6 separate regions of the Homo sapiens genome follow, and regions 1, 2, 4, 5 and 6 are each linked to region 3. Evidence: promoter capture Hi-C in human tissues and cell types (Jung and others, 2019). All regions are on one chromosome and are shown on one strand. Each heading gives the region's core, a stretch centred on a gene start or on the middle of the fragment in contact. The rest is flanking DNA. Distances are from core to core; before and after follow the strand shown. Region 1 overlaps LYPD6 (LY6/PLAUR domain containing 6). Region 2 has its middle 33 kb from the start of MIR9899. Region 3 holds the start of LYPD6B (LY6/PLAUR domain containing 6B). Region 4 overlaps LYPD6 (LY6/PLAUR domain containing 6). Region 5 overlaps LYPD6 (LY6/PLAUR domain containing 6). Region 6 overlaps LYPD6 (LY6/PLAUR domain containing 6).

Region 1 (3,998 bases), core at 7-2,506, 360 kb after region 3:
TAGAATAATAGTCTCTGGATACCTAATTCATGAGAGGCTTAAAACCTAGATGACGGGTTGACAGGTGCAGCAAACCACCATGGCACATGTATACCTATGTAACAAACCTGCACGTTCTGCACGTGTATCCCAGAACTTAAAAAAAAAAAAGAATAATAGTCTCCAATTCCATCCAGGTTGCTGCAAATGCCATTATTTCATTCCTTTTTATGGCTGAATAGTATTCCATGGTGTGTGTTTGCGTGTGTGTGTGTGTGTGTGTGTGTGTATTACATTTCCTTTATCCACATGTTAACTGATGGGCATTTGGGCTGGTTCCATATTTTTACAATTACAAATTGTGCTCCTGTAAACATGCATGTGCAAATATCTTTTTCATATAATGACTTATTTTCCTCTGGGTAGATACCTAGCAGTGGGATTGCTGGATCAAATGGTAGATCTATTTTTAGTTCACTTAGGAATCTCCACACTGTTTTCCATAGTGGCTGCACTAGTTTACATTCCCACTAACAGTGTAGACGTTTTCCCTTTTCTCCTTGGCATCCATGCCAACATCTGTTATTTTTGATTATGGCCATTCTTGCAGGAGTGAGTTGGTATTATATTGTGGTTTTGATTTGCATTTCCCTGATGACTAGTGATGCTGAGCATTTTTCCATATACTTGTTGGCTGTTTGTGTATCTTCTTTTGAGAATTGTCTATTCATGTCCTTAGCCCACTTTTTTTTTATTTTTTTATTTTATTATAATTATACTTTAAGTTTTAGGGTACATGTGCACAACGTGCAGGTTTGTTACATATGTATACATGTGCCATGCTGGTGTGCTGCACCCATTAACTCGTCATTTAGCATTAGGTATATCTCCTAATGCTATCCCTCCCCCCTCCCCCAACCGCACAACAGTCCCCAAAGTGTGATGTTCCCCTTCCTGTGTCCATGTGTTCTCATTGTTCAATTCCCACCTATGAGTGAGAACATGCAGTGTTTGGTTTTTTGTCCTTATGATAGTTTACTGAGAATGATGATTTCCAATTTCATCCATGTCCCTACAAAGGACATGAACTCATCCTTTTTTATGGCTGCATAGTATTCCACGGTGTATATGTGCCACATTTTCTTAATCCAGTCTATCATTGTTGGACATTTGGGTTGGTTCCAAGTCTTTGCTATTGTGAATAGTGCCGCAGTAAACATATGTGTGCATGTGTCTTTATAGCAGCATGATTTGTAGTCCTTTGGGTATATACCCAGTAATGGGATGGCTGGGTCAAATGGTATTTCTAGTTCTAGATCCCTGAGGAATCGCCACACTGACTTCCACAATGGTTGAACTAGTTTACAGTCCCACCAACAGTGTAAAAGTGTTCCTATTTCTCCACATCCTTTCCAGCACCTGTTGTTTCCTGACTTTTTAATGATTGCCATTCTAACTGGTGTGAGATGGTATCTCATTGTGGTTTTGATTTGCATTTCTCTGATGGCCAGTGATGGTGAGCATTTTTTCATGTGTTTTTTGGCTGCATAAATGTCTTCTTTTGAGAAGTGTCTGTTCATGTCCTTCGCCCACTTTTTGATGGGGTTGTTTGTTTTTTTTCTTGTAAATTTGTTTGAGTTCATTGTAGATTCTGGATATTAGCCCTTTGTCAGATGAGTAGGTTGTGAAAATTTTCTCCCATTTTGTAGGTTGCCTGTTCACTCTGATGGTAGTTTCTCTTGCTGTGCAGAAGCTCTTTAGTTTAATTAGATCCCATTTGTCAATTTTGGCTTTTGTTGCCATTGCTTTTGGTGTTTTAGACATGAAGTCCTTGCCCCTGCCTATGTCCTGAATGGTAATGCCTAGGTTTTCTTCTAGGGTTTTTATGGTTTTAGGTCTAACGTTTAAGTCTCTAATCCATCTTGAATTAATTTTTGTATAAAGTGTAAGGAAGGGATCCAGTTTCAGCTTTCTACACATGGCTAACCAGTTTTCCCAGCACCATTTATTAAATAGGGAATCCTTTCCCTATTGCTTATTTTTCCCAGGTTTGTCAAAGATCACATAGTTGTAGATATGCGCCATTATTTCTGAAGGCTCTGTTCTGTTCCATTGATCTATATCTCTGTTTTGGTACCAGTACCATGCTGTTTTGGTTACTGTAGGCTTGTAGTATGGTTTGAAGTCAGGTGGCGTGATGCCTCCAGCTTTGTTCTTTTGGCTTAGGATTGACTTGGCGATGCGGGCTCTTTTTTGGTTCCATATGAACTTTAAAGTAGTTTTTTCCAATTCTGTGAAGAAAATCATTGTTAGCTTGATGGGGATGGCATTGAATCTATAAATTACCTTGGGCAGTATGGCCATTTTCACGATATTGATTCTTCCTACCCATGAGCATGGAATGTTCTTCCATTTGTTTGTATCCTCTTTTACTTCATTGAGCGGTGGTTTGTAGTTTTACTTGAAGAGGTCCTTCACATCCCTTGTAAGTTGGATTCCTAGGTATTGTATTCTCTTTGAAGCAGTTGTGAATGGGAGTTCACTCATGATTTGGCTCTCTGTTTGTCTGTTATTGGTGTATAAGAATGCTTGTGATTTTTGCACATTGATTTTGTATCCTGAGACTTTGCTGAAGTTGCTTATCAGCTTAAGGAGATTTTGGGCTGAGACAGTGGGGTTTTCTAGATATACAATCATGTCGTCTGCAAACAGGGACAATTTGACTTCCTCTTTTCGTATTTGAATACCCTTTATTTCCTTCTCCTGCCTAATTTCCCTGGCCAGAACTTCCCACACTATGTTGAATAGGAGTGGTGAGAGAGGGCATCCCTGTCTTGTGCCAGTTTTCAAAGGGAATGCTTCCAGTTTTTGCCCATTCAGTATGATATTGGCTGTGGGTTTGTCATAGATAGGTCTTATTATTTTGAGATACATCCCATCAATACCTAATTGATTGAGAGTTTTTAGCATGAAGCGTTGTTGAATTTTGTCAAAGGCCTTTTCTGCATCTATTGAGATAATCATGTGGTTTTTGTCTTTGGTTCTGTTTATATGCTGGATTACATTTATTAATTTGCGTATATTGAACCAGCCTTGCATCCCAGAGATGAAGCCCACTTGATCATGGTGGATAAGCTTTTTGATGTGCTGTTGGATTTGGTTTGCCAGTATTTTATTGAGGATTTTTGCATCAATGTTCATCAAGGCTATTGGTCTAAAATTCTCTTTTTTGGTTGTGTCTCTGCCAGGCTTTGGTATCAGGATGATGCTGGCCTCATAAAATGAGTTAGGGAGGATTCCCTCTTTTTCTATTGATTGGAATAGTTTCAGAAGCAATGGTACCAGTTCCTCCTTGTACCTCTGGTAGAATTTGGCTGTGAATCCATCTGGTCCTGGACCCTTTTTGGTTGGTAAGCTATTGATTATTGCCACAATTTCAGAGCCTGTTATTGGTCTATTCAGGGATTCAACTTCTTCCTGGTTTAGTCTTGGGAGGGTGTATGTGTCAAGGAATTTATCCATTTCTTCTAGATTTTCTAGTTTATTTGCATAGAGGTGTTTGTAGTATCCTGTGATGGTAGTTTGTATTTCTGTGGGATTGGTGGTGATATCCGCTTTATCATTTTTTATTGGTCTATTTGATTCTTCTCTGTTTTCTTCTTTATTAGTCTTGCTAGTGGTCTATCAATTTTGTTGATCCTTTCACAAAACCAGCTCCTGGATTCATTAATTGTTTGAAGGGTTTTTTGTGTCTCTATTTCCTTCAGTTCTGCTCTGATTTTAGTTATTTCTTGCCTTCTGCTAGCTTTTGAATGTGTTTGCTCTTGCTTTTCTAGTTCTTTTAATTGTGATGTTAGGGTGTCAGTTTTGGATCTTTCCTGCTTTCTCTTGTGGGCATTTAGTGCTATAAATTTCCCTCTACACACTGCTTTGAATGTGTCCCAGAGATTCTGGTATGTTGTGTCTTTGTTCTCATTGGTTTCAAAGAACATCTTTATTTCTGCCTTCATTTCGTTATG
Region 2 (3,822 bases), core at 1,238-3,737, 260 kb after region 3:
ATGTTCTGAGCCCTGTTAACTACATGAAGATGAGAAATGACCTGGACAAGGTTGTTTTGGTGGAGTAGAAGGGACAGATAGCATGCTGGGTTATAAGTGAGTGGGAGATGAGAAAGTGGAGACAGCACACTCAGAAAATATCTCAGGGACTTGGTAAAGGGAATTAGGAAAAGGGAGTAGTCATTGGAAATGAGTGTTTGGTTTTCTTAGATAGAAAGTATCAGACACTATTAGTTTACTGATAGGAATCAATTATTGTATTACTAGGGGAAAAGCAAATGACGACTTAGAAGAACGAGGATGACCAAAGGCATGATGTTCTTAAGAAGGAATAAGTCAAGAGTAGTGCTTTCAAGTGTTTGTGTACATAAACACAGAAAACACCTGGGGAGCTTGTTAAATGGCAGATTGTGAGGCTGTAGGTGTATGATGGGGCCTGAGAGTCTGCATTTCTTGCATTTTTCCCAGGTGATGGTGATGCTGGTGCTGCCAGTCCACAGACCACTTTGAGTAGCAAGGGTAGTGCATAAAGGGTTATGCCTTTAATTGAAGAAATGACATTTCTTCAGTTGCCAGAGGAGGGAAGTCAGAGAAGATGGGTAGCTGTGGAGGTGGCAGGGATGGGGGCAGTTACCTGATAGTTTCTAGTTGCTAAGTAAACTCTGAGAGTGAAGGAGGGGGAAGTTGAATAAGACATTTGAGAAGATAAAGGCATAAAAGCTCTCTTAGAGAATACAAATGTAAGCCCTAAAGAAACATAACTAGATTTGGGGGCAAAGTTCAGGACCCATTTGAGGTTTTCCACTATGACTTAACATGAAACCAATCTACAATATTTAGCAGCTTGGGTGCCTACAAGAAGAGGATGGTTGGATCTCTCACTATTATTGAGGTTTTACCAATTGATTGTGAAAGAGGGAGTGAGGGGTTAAAGAGGGGAAGGGGGTCTTTTCAAAAATTATTATAACAATGACCATGGAATCTAAACTTAACTAGAATGGAAGTGCCCTTATTGTTCTTGCCACATGTGTGTCAGTTGAGATAGGAACATTAATTTCTGTGTAGAGACATGTCAAAGTTATTCTGGAAAAAAATACTGGCTCATTATACAAGACATGCTATTATCTTAAAAACAAAAGCACTAATTCTAATCGAGAAATGAGAGGTATCAGATAGCTTTGGTTTTTCTGTTATTCCTGTGTATTTGTTAAGAATATATTTAGGTATAAGAGCAGATTTCTCAACAAATATTAGCCTCAGAGCATCTAACATAACAAAAAATCTAGAACCATTGCTGTTGTTCTTTTAAATAGTTAATAACACCATGCTGGATCCAATCTCTTTGTGTACTTTTTGTCCTCCTAGTCATTACCTCCTGCTTTCAAGATGGCTGCTGCTGCTCCAGACAGCCCTCCTGTGTTCAAGTCAAATTAAAGGAGGAGAGGATGATGCTAACTGTGATTGTCTCTTTTTATCAGAGCTATAAAAGCTTTTCCAGAAAGCCCCAGCAGATTTCCACTTACATTTCATTGGCTGGTCATCATTATGCAAGGGAGGTGGGTGAAATGAATATTTAACTTTTCTACTCTCTATGATAGAGGTTGACAGGGGGAAAAAGTGTTGCGAATGGGTGTGAATCAGCCCACCTACAATATCTGTTTGATTCAGGGCTGGCTGGAGAGTTTAAGTATCTCTGTTTTAGAGCAATCACTCCACCAATAATATCCAATTATATTAAATACACTGTGCTTAATAATAAATAAAGAACTGCCTTCTCTTCCACTTGGCTTTTCTGCTCTCAGCTAGCAATAAGGTCTGTGTTTGAGAAGGAATATGGAATATACTGAGAACTTTTATTCTCTGGGCTTGCAATGGCTCTCTCATCTGGCTTACCTTCCCAAGATAATTCAGTGCTTGTTTAGGAGAAAAATAAAAAGTGAAGAACAACTATGTTGAATTCTAGGGAAGCACTCAATTCTGGATCATCTACCAGAACATGATTTGTTTAAGGATTATACATATTGGAAGGGGAAAGCTACTAACTTCAACTAAATCCTGTGTTCTTATTCCTGAGAGTAATTCACAGGGGTTCTTGGCAGAAAATAGAGGAGTTCTATTACTTCTCAACCAGGTTATTTGAAAGCTGTGTTCTATAATTCACAGGCAGAGAAATGCCTTTAATTCAATGCCATGATAATATAAGACTTTAAGGAATTTTGAGGAATTGTGAGGAAATCACCAGAAAAGCCAAATACATGAACACCAGTTATATTAGCAGAGTCTCTGGGACAAAGCCTCTTACACAAAGCACATGAGGCTCCACATCCAAATGGAAGTGGGAAAGGGGAAAGGGAGACCCTCCCCTTTTATAAAATCAAATCCCCTTTTATGGATTTGATTCTCCACTTGGTTGCTGTTGGTGTATAGAAGAGCTACTGATTTTTGTACATTAATCTTGTATCTGAAAACTTTGCTGAATTCTTTGATCAGTTCTAAGAGCTTTCTGGAGGAGTTCTTAGGGTTTTCAAGGTAAACGATCAGATTGTCAGCAGTGACAGTTTGACTGCCTCTTTACCGATTTGGATGTCCTTTATTTCTTTCTCTTGTCTGTTTCCTCTGGCTAGGACTTCCACTACTATATTGAAGAGGAGTAGTGAGAATGGACATCCTTATCTTGTTCCAGTTCTCAGAGGGAATGCGTTTAACTTTTCCCCATTCAGTATTATGTTGGCTGTGGTTTTGTCATAGATGGCTTTTAATACATTGAGGTATGTCTCTTGTATGCTGATTTTGCTGAGAGTTTTAATCAAAAAGTGATGCTGGATTTTGTCAAATGCTTTTTCTGCATCTATTGAGATGATCATGTGATTTTTGTTTTTAATTCTGTTTATGTGGCGTATCACATTTATTGACTTGCATATGTTAAACCATCTCTGCATCCCTGGTATGAAATCCACATGATCATGGTGGAATATCTTTTTGATATGTTTTTGGATTCAGTTGGCCAGTATTTTGTTAAGGATTTTAGCATCTATGTTCATCAAAGATATCAGTCTGTAGTTTTCTTTTTTGGTTATATCCTTTCCTGGTTTTGGTATTAGGGTGACGCTGGCTTCATAAAAGGAATTAGGGAGCATTCCTTCTTTATCCTGTGGAATAGTGTCAAAAGGATTGCTACCAATTCTTCTTTGAATATCTGGTAGAATTCTGCCGTGAATCCACCTGGTCCTGGACTTTTTCCTATTGGTAATTTTTAAATTACCATTTCAATCTTACTGCTTATAATTGGTCTGTTCAGGGTATCTAATTCTTCCTGAATTAAGCTAGAGGGTTGTATTTTTCAGAAATTTATAGATCTCTTCTAGGTTTTCTAGTTTATGTGCATAAAGGTGTTCATAATAGCCTTGAAAGATCTTTTGTATTTCAGTGGTGTCAGTTGTAGTATCTCCTGTTTTGTTTCTTAGTGAGGTTATTTGGATTTTCTCTCTTCTCTGTTAATCTTGCTAATGAACTATCAATTTTATTTATCTTTTCAAAGAACCAACTTTTTGTTTCATTTATCTTTTGCAATTTTTTGTTTGTTCATTTCAATTTCATTTATTTCTGCTCAGATATTGGTAATTTTCTTTCTTCTGCTGGGTTTGAGTTTGGTTTGTTCTTGTTTCTCTAGTTCCTTGAGGTGCGACCTTAGAATGTCAGTGTGTGCTCTTTCAGTCTTTTTGAAGTAGGTGTTTAGGGCTATGAACTTCCCTCTTAGCACCGCCTTTGCTGTATCCCAGAGGTTTTGGCCAGTTGTGTCATTATTGTCATTCAGTTTGAAGA
Region 3 (3,553 bases), core at 134-2,633:
TGCTTTCTGCAGTGAAATGAATTTTTTCACGGAATGGATTTTTTTAACGAGTCTTGAAATTAACATGTGAGGAGCAGCATGACACATTACCTCGTGTGTGTGTGTGTGTGTGTGTGTGTGTGTGTGTGTGTGTGTGAGTGAAGGCCATTTGTTAAATGGAACACCTAAAAATACCATTGTTTTTGTTTTTGCGGTTGTCAGGGGCCTCAATAAATGCAAGCTGGCTCAGGAGATGCTTGACCTCAGAGGTCTGGAAAGACAGATTAGAAGTCTCAGCAGAGGACCAAACCCAGACCCCACTTCTGCAGAAGTTCTGTACCCAGGTTTCCCCACTGCAGGCATAACCAGCAGCCCCTCAAAGGCCCCAGACCAGCCAACTGTCTTTAGAAATGCAGACCCAGGATCAGCTTTGCTACCAGCCATGGAATCTTGGGTCAGTGGCCCATACTCTGAGCTGTGTTTCCACAGTGCAAGGCTGGCCGGACAGTGTTTTATTTCAGAGTTCTCCTGTCTGTGGCATCTTCAGAAGTTAAAGATTTGCTTGACCACTATAAGGTGCCCTGGGAGTGTAGACCTCCCACATCCCAGCTGCCTGGCTGGCAGTGGGTGGGGAGTAAGCAGTAGAGAGAGGACAGGTGGCCCGGAATCTAACAGCTTGCCTCTGGATTCTCCCTAGTAAGCTTGGAATGATGCTGGAGCAGCTCTGGGCCGAGGGGACCAGTCTAACGCTGGACGCAAAAGACTGGGCGCCACCTAGTCTGTTCATCAGGTATTAAATGCCCTGAGTTTTCAAAGCTCTGGTGATTCAGTAGTGGACGGGTAAGGTTCCTGCCTCTCCTGGGGCTTACCGTCCAGGGGTGGGGAGGACGTCACTATATGAAATTATCTTATTTATAGCTTAATGTCATTATTTAAAAAGGGGGAGGGAATCACTTGACGGGTGGGCAAGGTGGGGACGGGGTTGGATGGAATGGTCAAAAAAGGTCTTTCAGAGTTCTTCCAATCCTGAACTAACTCACCTGCACCCTTGGCCCAATCATTTTCACTCCCGAGGGTCTGCACTCCTCGTTTCTACATTGGTTTTCTAGGAAGAAAGGGGTTGGACCCTCCCCTCTTTAAGCTGGGTGGGGTCCGAATCCCGTGCTTCTTTCACTTCCTGAGCCGGGCTGGCTGGGTGGGAACAGGCTCCTTGCCGCCTCCCCAGCGCTGGCCACTACCACACTGCCGCCCGCCTGGGCCTCCTTTCAACCTCGTGGTGGAGCCCTGCGGTTTCCCAGCGGAGCCGGGCCCGGGGCTGCTCCCTCGCGGGCGAGGCTCACCTGTCCCGGCCCGGCCCCCTCCCGCGCCCCAGGTGGTTCAGGGCAGGGAGGAGCCGCGCCCCGCCCCGCGCGGTAGCAGCCAACGCCGGCCCCAGGCGGGTGCGCTGGGAGCCTGGGCCGGGAGCCGGGTGAGGGCGCCGAGAGGCTCGGTGGGCGCGGGCGGCGAGGTGAGCTGGGCCAGCGCAGCAGGCGGGGGCGGTGGTGGGTTCGGGACGGCTCACCCCGCGCCGGAGCGAGTGCGGGGCCGCGCGACTGCGGCGGGAGATGCGCTGCGCCCCTTCTGGGCGCGCTGGGGCAGCCAGGAGCTCGCGGGGCCGCGGGGCCGCGGGGCCGCGGGGCCGCGGCGCAGTGGCGGGGTCGGGGTCTGGTCGCTGCCTCGAGGCGAGCAGCTGCCAACATCTGGACGGGACGGGAGCAGGGGGCCGGGGCAAGGCTGGAGCGGTGTGGGTCTCTAATCGTCCAGAGCCCTGCGGGGCCAGTGACTTCGGCAGAGCCGAGGGGAGAGGAGATACTGGGGGTCAAACTGCTGGAGAGAGCGCGGAGCTGGGGCTGGGGTTCAAGGCCGATCGTGGGGCCAAGAGCGAGCGTGCCAGCTCCAGTGTTTCCCCCTGCAGCGCTTCACGCGCGACCAGCTTGGGTGCCGCCGCTTCCCTTGCCCCGGCTCTTTACTTTTGTTGTTGAATAACCTACCTTACACATTGGTTAGTTACCTGGGGCTTCTCAAAAGCCGGGTCTGGAGGCTGCTCTGACTCCAGGGGGCTTGGGTTGTGAGGCTTCAGGTCTGTATGCCCTGTGGCGTTTGGGGGGAGCTGGTGGGTGGAGGGGTGCTGTCCACCTCCCAAGGCCAGGGGATCAGAGAGTGGGAAAAGTCTAGAATGCTATTTAAATTCCAGTAACTAGCTGTGTGACCTTGGGCAAGTTACTGAACTGCTCTGAGCCTCAGTTCCCTTAAAGTAAAATAGGTATTATTAATATTATAATCATTACAACAGACTTAGGTTATATGATGTTCATGGAGTACATAGCATACTGCTTGATTTTTCCCCCTTTGTGTTGATGTGGTGATGTGTGTGTTGTGGGGTGGGGGCATTCTTTCCCACCCTGACTTGTTCATGGTTAGGCTTCCTCCAGGATGCCTTACTTGCTGACAGCATCACAGAGGCCAAGATTAGGGCTGCCAGTGCACGGGCCCTGCAGATGGAGGGGGTGTTGTCAGACTGCCCTCATCATTACCCATCGTATTTGTCAGAATTGTTTTCTTTGGGTTGGGTTTTGGTCACTTGAAAATTGCCTTATACTATGTAGAAATTGATTGGGTCACATAAATGAAAAGGTCGAGGGTTTCAGTTTAAAGCTATAGCTAGTTCCAGAGGCTCATACAAGGTTCCAGGGCTAGTTCTCTCTCTTGTATATCTTAGCTGTTTTTCTCTCTGTGTTTACTGGTTCTTAGTATGGACGATAAATAGGACTTGCACCTTCAGGCTTATCTGCTCCTTCAGAGAGAGAGACAGAGACAAAGAGGGAGAGAGAGAATCCCATCTTCTCTATCCGTATAGCAGTCTCTCTCTGTCTCTCTCTCTCTCTCTCTTTTTTTTTTTTTCTTTTGAGACAGACTCTCACTCTGTCACCCAGGCTGGAGTGCAGTGGTGTGATCTCGGCTCACTGCATGCAACCTCCACCTCCCAGGTCCAAGCGATTATCCTGCCTCAGCCTCCCAAGTAGCTGGAGTTACAGGCGCCGGCCACCACGTGGGACTAATTTTTGTATTTTTAGTGGAGATGAGGTTTCACCATGTTGGCCAGGCTGGTCTCGAACTCCTAACCTCAAGTGATCTGCCCGTCTTGGCCTCCCAAAGTGCTGGGATTATAGGAGTGAGCCACTGCACCCGGCCCCTTATAGCAATCTTATTGACATACTGGACCAAAACAGAACCAAGCCATCTCAGCAGACAGGGAGAGGTTTACACAACAGGAATGGGCACATGACCGACTGTGATTGATAGACTGGCCCACCTCTGCTGCAAGGCATGTCGGTAGGGGGCGCAATTCCCAATGAGAAGTCTGACAAAACAGGACATGTTCATTTTACTATCTCTGTCTTTGCTCACCAGCGCCTAAAGGTAGTCTGCAGTAGAATGTAGACAGCCTGAGGGCCGTATTCCATCAGTCAAGTCTTCATCTAATGCATGGAGGGCATCCTGTGTGTCCATCTTTTCATTCATTGTTTTTTGTTTA
Region 4 (3,627 bases), core at 88-2,587, 340 kb after region 3:
GGCAACAATTTGAGTATTATCTAGATAGAGCCCAGCAAGTAGTAGGTGCCCGAGTGATATTGTGTTGAATAAAGTTACACTGAAGGGAAGTCTGTCCCTGACAATCTCCCTTCTCTTGTTTGCTGAGTCTTAGGCTCTTAAGAGAAATGATCTATATTAATTTTCTCCTTATTCTTGCATTTAGGAGGTTCTCCTGAGAATCGGAAAGTCCAGTCTATAGTAAGTTTCCCTCTGCTGGTGTCAACAGGGAGGGTTAACATCCTGCTTCACAGGAAGGTAGCACATGTTAGGCTTTTACTATACATGGTTAATATTTTCAGGATGAAATTTGATTTTACAGCATAGTCATATTTATGCAATATGATATTATAATACAATTATGAGGAAAAATAGTGGTTTTGTTTTGTTTTGCATGCAAGGAAATGTGCTGGGATGACCAGGAAAGAAAGCAGTGAAGGAAACAACTTCACTCCCACTATTTGTGGAGCTTGTTTGGTTCTGGCAGGAAGTCAGGGTTTCAGAGGAGATGGGATGTTCAGTTTGGTCCAGGTGATCTTCAGTCTTCAAGGATCTAGAGAGACTTGGGGGTTGTCCATGATTCATCAGAAGAGCTGTTTCACAGACCTCAGGGTTTGTTAAGGGTTAGAATCACAGTGCCTTCGTAAATTTTTCTTAGATGGAGGTGAAGGTATGAGTAGATTTATTCTGAAGGTAGACAAACCAGGATTTACCTTGATTTCTTGAGTATTTTTCATCAGCGTAAATGAACCCAATAAGTAAGTGCCCGTGGGTGGCACTGTGATTTTTGATATACAGTTGGTATCAAACTAATTGTAATGGGTCTTGGCGAGATGAAGTCATGGACTGTGGGAGGTAGGTGGGGTGTGAGTGGGGAACACTTGAGTGAGAGGTTTCTTTTCCTCTGAAGGAATGATGATGATGATAATCATGCCTACTGTTTATTGAATGGGCACTGATGTGGTCCTGCCCTCTGTATTGGCATGACGAAAATAAAGCTCAGCAAGTTCTTATGTGTTCTTTGACCCTGAAATCCCAGTGGTCTAAAAATAGATTTAGAAAATACCTTTCCTAAAGAGAATCAGAAAAATGTTTGGGGTTCTCCCAACATTTTCTCTTTGTATATTCTTGTTTCTCTGTTTATTCTACCATGCTTTTTTGTGGGCCCATTGCTATAACTGTTACCATGACATTTGAAATTCCCAAGTGCTATAAAGAGACAGTGTTGTTATTATTGCTGTTTGTTATTTTTTATTATTGCTGTGATTGCAGGGAGGCAAGGAACTGGGTTTGACAGGTGGAAGGGGGAATTCCAACAAGAGTACGTCTGGGATGATGGGAAGCTGAGGACTGGGATACTGAGAGAGTTAGACAGGATGTGACTAACGAGAACAATGCCATCAATATGCAAAGCATACAGAATTGCGAATCTGATTCCAAAAATGCTACCACTGCAAAATTACAATAGCAGCGTTTTCTTAGTGCATAAGCCAAGTGTTATTTTAGCCTGAGAGAAGGCAGCTGAACTGGAGATAGTGAACGCACCTAAACAAATGTGGCCTGGGATGAAGCTGCAAAAACACAAAAGGGCTGCATGCTGGCATGGAAACCGCCTCAGAGCTGAAACAACAGAAGCTGAAGTTGAGCAGTGTCAGCCCGGGATGTGTGGTTTGCCCTGGGTCTGTTTTGGAGGCCTTGGGAAAACAGCCCTACAGATAAATTCTCCAGATTTGCGGTCTAAAACTGGTACAAAAGAAACAGCTCTGTCTAACTTGGCAAGATTGAAGAGCTTTCTGGTGGTTAACTTGCACTGTGCATATCTATTTGTATGCCCTGCATTTCATCTGAATACTATTAAAATAAATGGAATTAGAAGTCCCTCACCCACGCCATTCTGAGCCCAGAACATTTTTTTTTTCCATTGCCTTCTTAACTCTGCTCAGTAGGGGGGTCTTCCTAGTTTGGAAAAACCACTGCTTGGATGTTCTAGAGGAGGGGATAAAGAACAAGGTCAGATAAACCTAATCTCCTAATCTCCCATCTGTAAAATACTACTAATAATAACTACTTCATAGGGTTGTTGTGAGAATTAAATGCAATTAATAATATTGCAATTTAATATAAAATTCATTATCATTAGATGCCATACATGTGTAGAAGATCTAATAAAAATATATTACTGGGTACTCATTGTGTCTTACCCACTGTTTCACTGTCTTTATATACAATTTCTTATCTGGGATAAGCAACTTAATCCAGGGACGCATGTAAAGCTTATAAAGTGTAGAAAGATTTGAAATCCTCAGAACTGCTGGTAAAGCTCACATGTAACCATTGCTACTGTTCCCTAATTTGGAATCTGGCATTTTGTAGGTGCAGTACTGACTAAATTCATTTAATTAAATATGGAGCAATCCAAAGCTCCCATGTTCTTTTCTCCTGGTTTTATATAAACTGTCTACAGTGCAGTCACCAAACCTTTGCATCTCCTTTGTCACTGGGATCAGGAGATAGCATAAAATCAGACTTCTGCTGTATATGGTTATACATATATGAGCCATCTCACTATAGGGCTCCACTGTCTTAACCAGGGTCTGGACTATTGCTGCTAAGAAAACTGATGACCCCTGGTTTAGAACTTTGTCTAACAACAAATGACTTTGAATAGGCAAGTGGTTTTTTGTGGTGAAGTAGATGACTCTTTTCTTTCTTTTTTCCTTTTTTTTTTTTCTTGGAAACATGCGGAGTGATGTTGTCTGTCAGGTCTGCTGGCAGGTTCTGTTGCAAGGAGACTATGCAGGAATCTGCCTGCTTGGCTTAATCACTGGAAAAAAAAAAACACAACTGCCAAGCAAGTCCCAGGTTGAAGTGGGCACCGCACACAGGAGCTGCTTTATCAGACTTAAAGGGATGCTGCGAGAGGCAGGAGCACTTCTCCCAGATGTAGGCTCTAACCTTGAAGGAACAGTGGCTCTCACAGGCCCGGTAATAATGTGAGCATAAAAAAGCAAAGTGGCTGGGTGCGGTGGCTCATACCTGTAATCCCAGTATTTGGGAGGCCAAGGTGGGTGAATCACCTGAGGTCAGGAGTTTGAGACCAGCCTGGGCAACACGGTGAAACCCCGCCTCTACTACAAATACAAAAGTTAGCCCGGTGTGGTGGCACACACCTATAGTTCCAGCTACTCGGGAGGCTGAGACAGGAGAATTGCTTGATTCTGGGAGGCGGAGGTTGCAGTGAGCTGAGATCACACCACTGCACTCCAGCCTGGACGACAGAGCGAGACTTTGTCCCCACCCCCCCCCCCACCCCCCCAAAAAAGCAAGGGAAACTGTTAGGGCACCTCTGATCCTTCCAGTGTCTGTATCTGTGTTTGCTGGCTTTATCATTACTCTTGCCCTGGAGCCTCCTGCAGGCCTCATGTGTATTCATCGCAAATATACCATCTCCAATGTGCCTGGCATGAGGTCAGGCCCTGGGGATCCAGTAATGAGACATAGTTCCTATCTATATATTGTCTCTTCCTTTTTCTATGCACCCCCTAAAGCTGGAGATGCTGTTTTACCTATTCTTCAAAAGACTTTCCTAGCTATGTGTAACTCATAGTA
Region 5 (3,585 bases), core at 371-2,870, 380 kb after region 3:
TCCCAGTGTCAAGGTCGCATCCCATAGCAGTGAAATGGTAATGGGTGAGAGCCATCATGAGGAGTTTTTCAGGATCCCCAGGGGATTCCAATGTGTAGCAAATTTGGAAACCTTGGCCCTTTTTGATACCCTCTTTCTTTAATCCCAGCACTTTTCTTTAATCCCACCACTTTCTTTAATCCCAGCACTTTGGGAGGCCAAGGCGGGCAGATCACTTGAAGTCAGGAGTTTGAGACCAGCCTGGCCAACAACCCTGTCTCTATTAAAAATACAAAACATTAGCCCGGCCTGGTGGCGCATGCCTGTAATCCCAGCTATTTGGGAGGCTGAGGCAAGAGAATTGCTTGAACTTGGGAGACAGAAGTTGCAGTGAGCTGAGATCATACCACTGCACTCCAGCCTGGGTGACAGAGCAAGACTCCATCTCAAAAAAAAAAAAAAAAAAAAAAGTGTGTTTTTATTTCTTGATGTCCCAGTTTCTGTATCTGTAAAATGGAGTAATAATAATTACCCCTACTACACTGAGTGTTGTGGGGATTACAGAAAGCACCTATGGAAGCACCTTGCACCTACTAGGTTGAGCCATATGAAGTTGCTGTTTTTGTAGGTCGAAAATGATGGGATAGTGGCAATCTAATACTATTCAGTCCTATAGTAAGTGCTCAATAAACGTTAATTGTTGCTGTTATTTTCCATGTAACCAATGTATTTTATTTGAATATAATATTTATATTTGGCAATTTTTATTTAGTTTTAAAGCCATATATGGACTTTAAAGCTTAATATCAGTTTTCTGTCTGTATTCATAAGTAGTATCATAATTAACATTCATTAGTTAACGGAATGGGTGAGGTTCTGTCTGTGAAACCGTTTTCTCCTTTTATAGGAGAAAACACTTTTCAAATTTGAGAAGGTCTGCCCCAGACCTTCCCTAACTAATTTGCTTCACTTCTGCCTGTGTTTTTATCCTCACCACAAGATGCTGATCTTAGCTTGGGATCAGCTAGAAAGTCTGACAGGTGGTGACCCAGGCTTTTGACTTCTTATAATAGAGCTTGGCATGCTATGGCGCCTCTTGGAAGACCTTTCAAAGGTCTTTCTGAATGGAAAGCAAACGTTCCTGGGCAGTGTCTTGACCCAGATGAGTAACCAGGTGCCTTCTTCACCTACTGTGAGCTGATTTTAAGGACTATGTTAGCTAGCAAGCATGTGCTAGCATTGTTCAAAGTGTACTATCTCCTTTAAACCTCCTAAGAGCCCTTTAAACTAGAGGTTTTAATTTCCCTATTTTGCAATTGAGGAAACTAAGGCACAGAGAGGTTAAGCAACCTTCCCAGGAGCAGTCAGCGTGCTAGGCTGAGCTGGCCCACTCCAGAGCCTGTGCTCCTGGACTGTACCACACTGCTTTCGATGCATTACATATTCTCCTTCACAGTAAGCCTAGCAAGTGGGTAATGGGGCCTGGGGTCTCTCTGCTCTGGAGCCCAGCACTTCATGTCCTTGCTGTAGTGGTTCCTGGTCAGCCTGCTTGTGGCTGTTGGGTGTGGCTGCCACACCCATTTGAAATATGTGTACATTGTGAAATGATTAAATCAGGCTAATTAACTTATCAATCACTTCACATACTTAAGATTTTTTAGTGATGAGAGCATTTAAGAACTATTCTCTTAGCAAGTTTCAAGTATATGATACACTGTTATTAACTCTAGTCACCATGCTGTACAACAGATCCCCAGAACTTATTCCTCTTATCTCACTGACATTTTATACCCTTTGACCAACGTCTCCCATCTATCTGTCTTCCCCCATCATCTCCTGACAAGCATCATTCTACTCTTCCTCTGTGAGTTCAACTTTTTTAGGTCCTACATATAGTGAGATCATAGAATACAATGTTTGTCTTTCTGTGCCTGGCTTATTTCACTTAGCATAATGTCCTCTAGGTTCATCCATGTTGCTGCAATTGAATTTTAACAGCTTTTTCTCTAAGCCCTTTTATTTCCAGTGCCCAATAATCAAATAAGTATACCCCTTGTATACTTATTTGATTATTGGAATGAACATAGAGGTTTATCTGATCTTTATAAAATGTAATGGATCCTGAGCTGGGTTGGCAGTTGGAGGCAACACCAAGACAGATAACCATCTGCCCCCACAGGGCAAGGAGGTACAGGGTGACCTCATATGTACCTGGAGGATCAGCTGGACTGCCCTGCCCACCTCCCAGCCTCTGCCTTCCTCTTTCATCAGCACTGTGGGGGCAGCTGTATCTCAGGTGGGATGTGGAGGTCAAGGAATTAGATTGGCCTGAAGCATTCAATAAAGGAAGGTTCTCTTAAAGTAAGCTTCTGGGTTATTTGAATTTTAAAAGAAAACATTTGTGAACCTTAAATACATTTCCAGTTCGTGATGGTATCAGGCTGCATGATGAAGGGGGGAAATTTTGATAGGTGGGATGCAGATTTGGGGTAGATTTTAACCACCCTGTACATTGCAAAATGAGACGATTGCCTACTTTCTCTGTTGAAATTAAGCAAGGTTTAGAGTTGCTATGTTTCTGCTGACTGTGACATGGCACACTGGGCTGAAAAGTGTCCTAGCCAGGGTGGCAGGAAAACGAGGCTGCCCTTGAAGCTCTAATTGTTTACCAGCTTTTTTCTGCGGATAGATACCTGAAATACTCTATGCCTCAATTCCTTCATGTATAAAATAACACACTTTGAATAGGACATTGGTTCCCCAAACTACTCCTCAGAAAACTAGACTAGTTAATAGACGTTCATTAAAAAATAAGCTCTCTGCCGGGGCGGGGGGTGGGGGGTGTCACTGTTCAAATAAGTGTGGGGAAAATGCTGACTTAAGCAAAACCAAAGAGATTTCTTCACTGCAGCACATTTCAGAGCCTTTAATATGCTTATGTGTATTCTGACTCTTAATGCACAGTATTTCCCATGGATGCCTCTGAGTAAGCTTGATTTGGGAGATGTGGGACAGAACCCTTTGCTGGTCCAATCCAGCCCTGATAAAAGTATTACTCAAAGACTTGAAGATTTCCCCGAAAGATGCCATCGTCTCAAGATGGCTTTATCTTCTCACCCTCCTCACCAGAAACACCCCAAATTCTTTTCTTCTTCCAAGTTCCTGTAGCATGCGTACACATGTCAATATGCACACAACACACACACACATCCCTCTGTTATAAAAGCAGTTATTATGATTACTTCTATATCAAATCAACAAATCGCTATCAGAGACCTCCTGTGTCATAGGGGTTGGGGACCTAAGGATAAATCAGATGATGTCCATAAAATTTACGCCCTTAAGGAGCTCAAAATTTAGTAAAAAGTATGTCATCTTAACAGTTCTACTACATGTTGGCAATCATAATAACTAATGAAAGCTATATGTGGTATATTAATTCGTATCTTGTCCCTACGGCATAGAAGCTATCGGTCTCATTTTAGAGATGAGGAAAGAAAAAGTAACCTGTCCAAGGTCATAGACCTAATAAGTGGCAAAGCTGGGACTTGAGCCCAAATCTGTCAAAATACAAAGCCCATTCATTGTCCTTACGAAATAAGGCCT
Region 6 (4,026 bases), core at 1,336-3,835, 430 kb after region 3:
AAAAGAGGAGAGCTGCTGCCTCTTCTTCAACAGAAAAGCAATCACTCCAATGTTAAGATAGTTTAGGGCTTTGGGATAATTATTGCCAGGTAGAAAACTTTCAACTATTCTTATTGTGAGCTCCCCAGATGACCTTACCCTACTCCCAAAGAGCTCCATAGGACCCTGGGCAACCTTGGAGCAAGCTTCAGCCCAATCCAACTAACAATTCCAGCCGGGATGCAGTGTGGGACAGCATTTAGGGGAGGGTGTTGCCACAGACTCTGCCCAGGCACACCTGCCAATAGCATCACCACTGGGAAAGTGGCAGCTCTTAGTACGACTTAATTGGAGACCATTTGGGATTCCTGTCAGGTGAGGGTCTCTAGGAAGACTGTTAAAACCCCTGAGTTTTGATGACTTCCAGGATGTGTTGAAGGGTCTGTATTAGCTCATTCTCAAGACCTAAAATTTTCTTACGCTTTCTTCTTTGGACATTAGTTCTTCAGTTAAAAGCTGCCAAAATCATGACAGAATCTGGTGGGGGAGAGGGGAGGAATTTGTATTGCCTAATAAATAATCTCATAGAAGGTCATAATTCCATATTAGCCACTAAATATCTGAAATGTATAAAGCATGCAAAGTTGGATCCAAGATGTGGATGAAAAACAGCTCGGTGACATTTCTTAAGAATTATTCATTTTCTTTTTTAATGTGAAAGTAGAGCAAGAACATTCTCCTAAATCCCAGACTTAGAGAGCTGAACATTGCCTGGAGGCCATAAAGAATTACATTGACAAAGCCATTTTTCTTTAGTTTTTAAATTACACATTAAAAGTTCCCCCAAAGAATTTTGGAAGAGATCTCAAGCTTTCAGATTCATTAGACATAGAGGGACCTCTGGAAACTCCCATCATGGTCTTCATCTGTTGTCCTAGGAAGACACTGAAATCATGCTAGGGAGAAACGAAGCTCCTCAATTTTGGAAAAATGTTCATTATTGTTTCAGTCTTCGTCTGTAATGCACCCTGGACCCAGCTATGCTCATTGGCACAAAGTTTTAAATTGTTCTGCTCTTGTGAATAGCTGCTTCCCCCCAACACACACACACACACACACACACACACACACACACACACACACACACACACACACCAGCCACTGCTGTAGTGTTTTATCTCCTTGAGGACTACTGTTACCTGCCTAACTCATTTTAACCCTGAGTTCTTTGAACCTCTTTGTCCTTTCATCTTCCTTAAAATTGCTATGACTTATACCTCTTAAATCATCCCCGCAAAACCACTCATCCCCTAAAAATAAAAATCAGTCCAGTGGCAAAATTTGTTGAAAGGCAAGGAGAAACCATTGTGTCTTGGTTTATGGGAATAATGCTGGGCAGAGAAATCAATATTCTTTGAAGGTTGTCCTCCTACCATGGCAAAGTGGAGCTCTCCAAAGAGGTCTTTGGGGTTGGACATAAACTCAAAGCAGTGCACATCTTATGTGCTATTAGCTCTTTTCTGGAATGATAATGCTGACACTCCTGTTATTTTCCTTTTAGGCAGGTTTGGTCAACATTTCCCATCTCAAATATATTTTCTCTGTTGACAGAGACCAGATACTGCTACACTCAGCACACAATGGAAGTCACAGGAAACAGTATCTCAGTCACCAAACGCTGTGTCCCACTGGAAGAGTGCTTATCCACTGGCTGCAGAGACTCCGAGCATGAAGGCCACAAGGTCTGGGCAACAGAGCAAGTGACCAGTACTACATAGCCAGCTGCCTTCTCTTCAGACATCTGCCAGTACTCATGAGCAGATTCTTACTCCCCCGTGAAGGCTGTCTTTTGATTGTCTTTATGCTCTATGAAAAGACGCTTCCTTTCCTGTTTACTCTAAAAGAATACACATTTATACCAGAGCATAGGACAACTGATATAAATTGTGTAAACACACATGAAGAGGGTGTTCAGTGTTATTGTAATAACTTTCTTCACTCAGAGGAAAGTAATAAAGCTACCAGAAAAAAGAGGAGCAAGAGACCAGTTATGTCCATCACAGTGAAGCTTTGCAGATGTACCCAGTTCATTCATCACAGGAGGACCGACGCAATTCAGCTTTGATAACTTTCTGTAAAGTAGGGCTCATGTTGTGACTGGGATGTTAGTTTGGGGAGGGTCTCCATTGGCTCTTGAGTCATTTGATAGGTGATGGAGACCCATCTTGTGTGTTCGCTTAAGCTTCACCTGGTACCTGTAGAAGCCTGTATACGGAAACACATGGTGCCTATGTACAGAAGCACTCAGTGTAAAATGAGCTTGGGAGGCAGCCTTGAAGGGGCATATGGACAATCACAGAAAGGCAGCCTTGCCCTCTATACGTGTGTCTATACATGTCTATATGCTGTCTATACGTGTGACCTTAACATAGCATACTTTGGCCTTTATTTAGCAGCTGAACACTTCTGCAGGTGGCCTTCCTGGTGGTTTGGGCAATGTCCATTCTCAATACCTGGGAACAGCACTGTTTCTTAAGAAGGCAGACACCTAATTTTCAAGCAACCTCTTGAATACACTAATAATTAAAATTTTAAATATAATCTGCCTATTCTGCTCCTGGTTCAAAATGAGTAAAACCAAAGGCTTTCCCTGACCTCTCCAGCAAATTGGACTTGATTCTGAGGAGTTACTGTGGCCTCTTTACCAAGGAGAAAGTTAAGGATTAGAGAAATTGGGTCATATGCTCGGTCACACAGCTGGTAAGTGACAGGCACAGAATTCCAACTCACCTCTGGTTTGGAGTCTACCTCCGCAACATTATACTGACTTCCTGGCACGTGTCACTGTGACTAAAGACTCAAATCCCTGCAGGAAAATGACTGTATAGAATGTTATTAATAACCATCCTATGACTAGGAATCACCTGGGAATCTTGTTAAAATGTAGTCCTAATTCTTTGTCTGGGGCAAGGTTTGAGATTCTGCACTTGTAACAAACTCCCAGCTGATGTTGGAGCTGCTGGTCTGTACTTTGTGTAGCCATGCCCCAAGAAAGTTTTTGTCACTAACTCTGTGGGTTTATTTCTTTCTAATGATCCACGAGTAAGGTGGTGTAAAGCAGGAGTAACTGCATGAATGAAAACCCTTCAAACATTAACTCACCCAATGAGAATGGAGACACTTATGCAAACAGTTCTGTGAAAGTCAGTACTCAAGTTTAAACCACCCGGGTTGTTGCCACTTGACTCTCACTTGAAAACTTGGCAAACGAAGGCTTACCCTCTCTTCCTCAAGTAGTCAGAAAGAGCCTCATGGAAAAACACGGACGAGTTTCTTTATTCCCATTTTAAGGGCGAAAGAACTGAGGCCCAGGAAGGCTATACACCTTTGTAAGAATCGTATGGGTGGAGGGTGTCAAAAACAAAACCTAGCTCTCTTGAAGTTTGGCCTGGGGAGTTTTCATGTTGACCAGATTGCTTCTAGAAGAAATATTATCCCCAGCCTTCCTGAACGTAGAGTTGGCATCTCCTTTATAGATTAGGTAATTTTTACTTGCATCTTGCCATGTGGGCGACAGTGCCTTCAAAAACCCTGCCTCCTTCCAAGACATGCTGGCTTCTCATTATCTTTTTTTCTTCCTTTCTTTCAGGTCTGCACTTCTTGTTGTGAAGGAAATATCTGTAACTTGCCACTGCCCCGAAATGAAACTGATGCCACATTTGCCACGACGTCACCTATAAATCAGACAAATGGGCACCCACGCTGTATGTCAGTGATAGTGTCCTGCTTGTGGTTGTGGTTAGGGCTCATGTTATAGTGGCTCAGTGGCTCCATGTGTTAATAGCGATCCATGGGGATCTCGATGGTCCACAGACCTGCATGAGTCATTGGCCTGACAGTAATTACACATGTGAGACACAACACTCTTGGAGGTCATCACAGCCAAGCATTGCCACTTACCATGAGGAATAAATGTTGCTTCATTGTAGCCATTTTGAGTCTAACCGAGACTCATCAAAGCCTTCTGTCAGTACAGCCCAAGTTCCA

The links. The method cuts DNA at HindIII sites, captures the fragments that hold promoters and counts their contacts. A contact is called where the count stands out against the background at its distance.
Region 1: a fragment that was not itself captured here is called in contact with the fragment with the promoter of LYPD6B in region 3 in 5 of the 25 tissues and cell types used here (H1 embryonic stem cells, bladder, hippocampus and 2 more).
Region 2: a fragment that was not itself captured here is called in contact with the fragment with the promoter of LYPD6B in region 3 in 2 of the 25 tissues and cell types used here (aorta and mesenchymal stem cells).
Region 4: a contact is called between a fragment that was not itself captured here and the fragment with the promoter of LYPD6B in region 3, in 5 of the 25 tissues and cell types used here (heart left ventricle, heart right ventricle, lymphoblastoid cells and 2 more).
Region 5: a fragment that was not itself captured here is called in contact with the fragment with the promoter of LYPD6B in region 3 in 4 of the 25 tissues and cell types used here (H1 embryonic stem cells, lymphoblastoid cells, mesenchymal stem cells and 1 more).
Region 6: a fragment that was not itself captured here is called in contact with the fragment with the promoter of LYPD6B in region 3 in 2 of the 25 tissues and cell types used here (heart left ventricle and mesenchymal stem cells).

The regions. Positions count from the first base shown.
Region 1 is chr2:149,401,992-149,405,989 of GRCh38, forward strand. The region is part of intron 1 of LYPD6 (LY6/PLAUR domain containing 6); the gene reads left to right. Among named protein-coding and RNA genes, the nearest start is that of LYPD6, 73 kb to the left of the region's middle. The HindIII fragment of the contact is 5,604 bases long and covers 1-3,998 here.
Region 2 is chr2:149,295,445-149,299,266 of GRCh38, forward strand. No RefSeq gene overlaps it. Among named protein-coding and RNA genes, the nearest start is that of MIR9899, 33 kb to the right of the region's middle. The HindIII fragment of the contact is 5,121 bases long and covers 1-3,822 here.
Region 3 is chr2:149,037,316-149,040,868 of GRCh38, forward strand. It overlaps LYPD6B (LY6/PLAUR domain containing 6B), which reads left to right and starts at 1,384. Exons shown (of 7, transcript NM_177964.5): 1 at 1,384-1,486. RefSeq lists enhancers at 454-513, 1,727-1,776, 1,817-1,876 and silencers at 1,137-1,476, 1,487-1,646. The HindIII fragment of the contact is 10,219 bases long and covers 1-3,553 here.
Region 4 is chr2:149,374,467-149,378,093 of GRCh38, forward strand. The region is part of intron 1 of LYPD6 (LY6/PLAUR domain containing 6); the gene reads left to right. Among named protein-coding and RNA genes, the nearest start is that of LYPD6, 46 kb to the left of the region's middle. The HindIII fragment of the contact is 5,007 bases long and covers 1-3,627 here.
Region 5 is chr2:149,420,963-149,424,547 of GRCh38, forward strand. All of the region lies in intron 1 of LYPD6 (LY6/PLAUR domain containing 6), which reads left to right. Among named protein-coding and RNA genes, the nearest start is that of LYPD6, 92 kb to the left of the region's middle. The HindIII fragment of the contact is 3,728 bases long and covers 1-3,484 here.
Region 6 is chr2:149,467,055-149,471,080 of GRCh38, forward strand. It overlaps LYPD6 (LY6/PLAUR domain containing 6), which reads left to right. Exons shown (of 5, transcript NM_194317.5): 4 at 1,591-1,721; 5 at 3,629-4,026. The coding sequence ends at 3,796. Among named protein-coding and RNA genes, the nearest start is that of MMADHC-DT, 120 kb to the right of the region's middle. The HindIII fragment of the contact is 4,136 bases long and covers 518-4,026 here.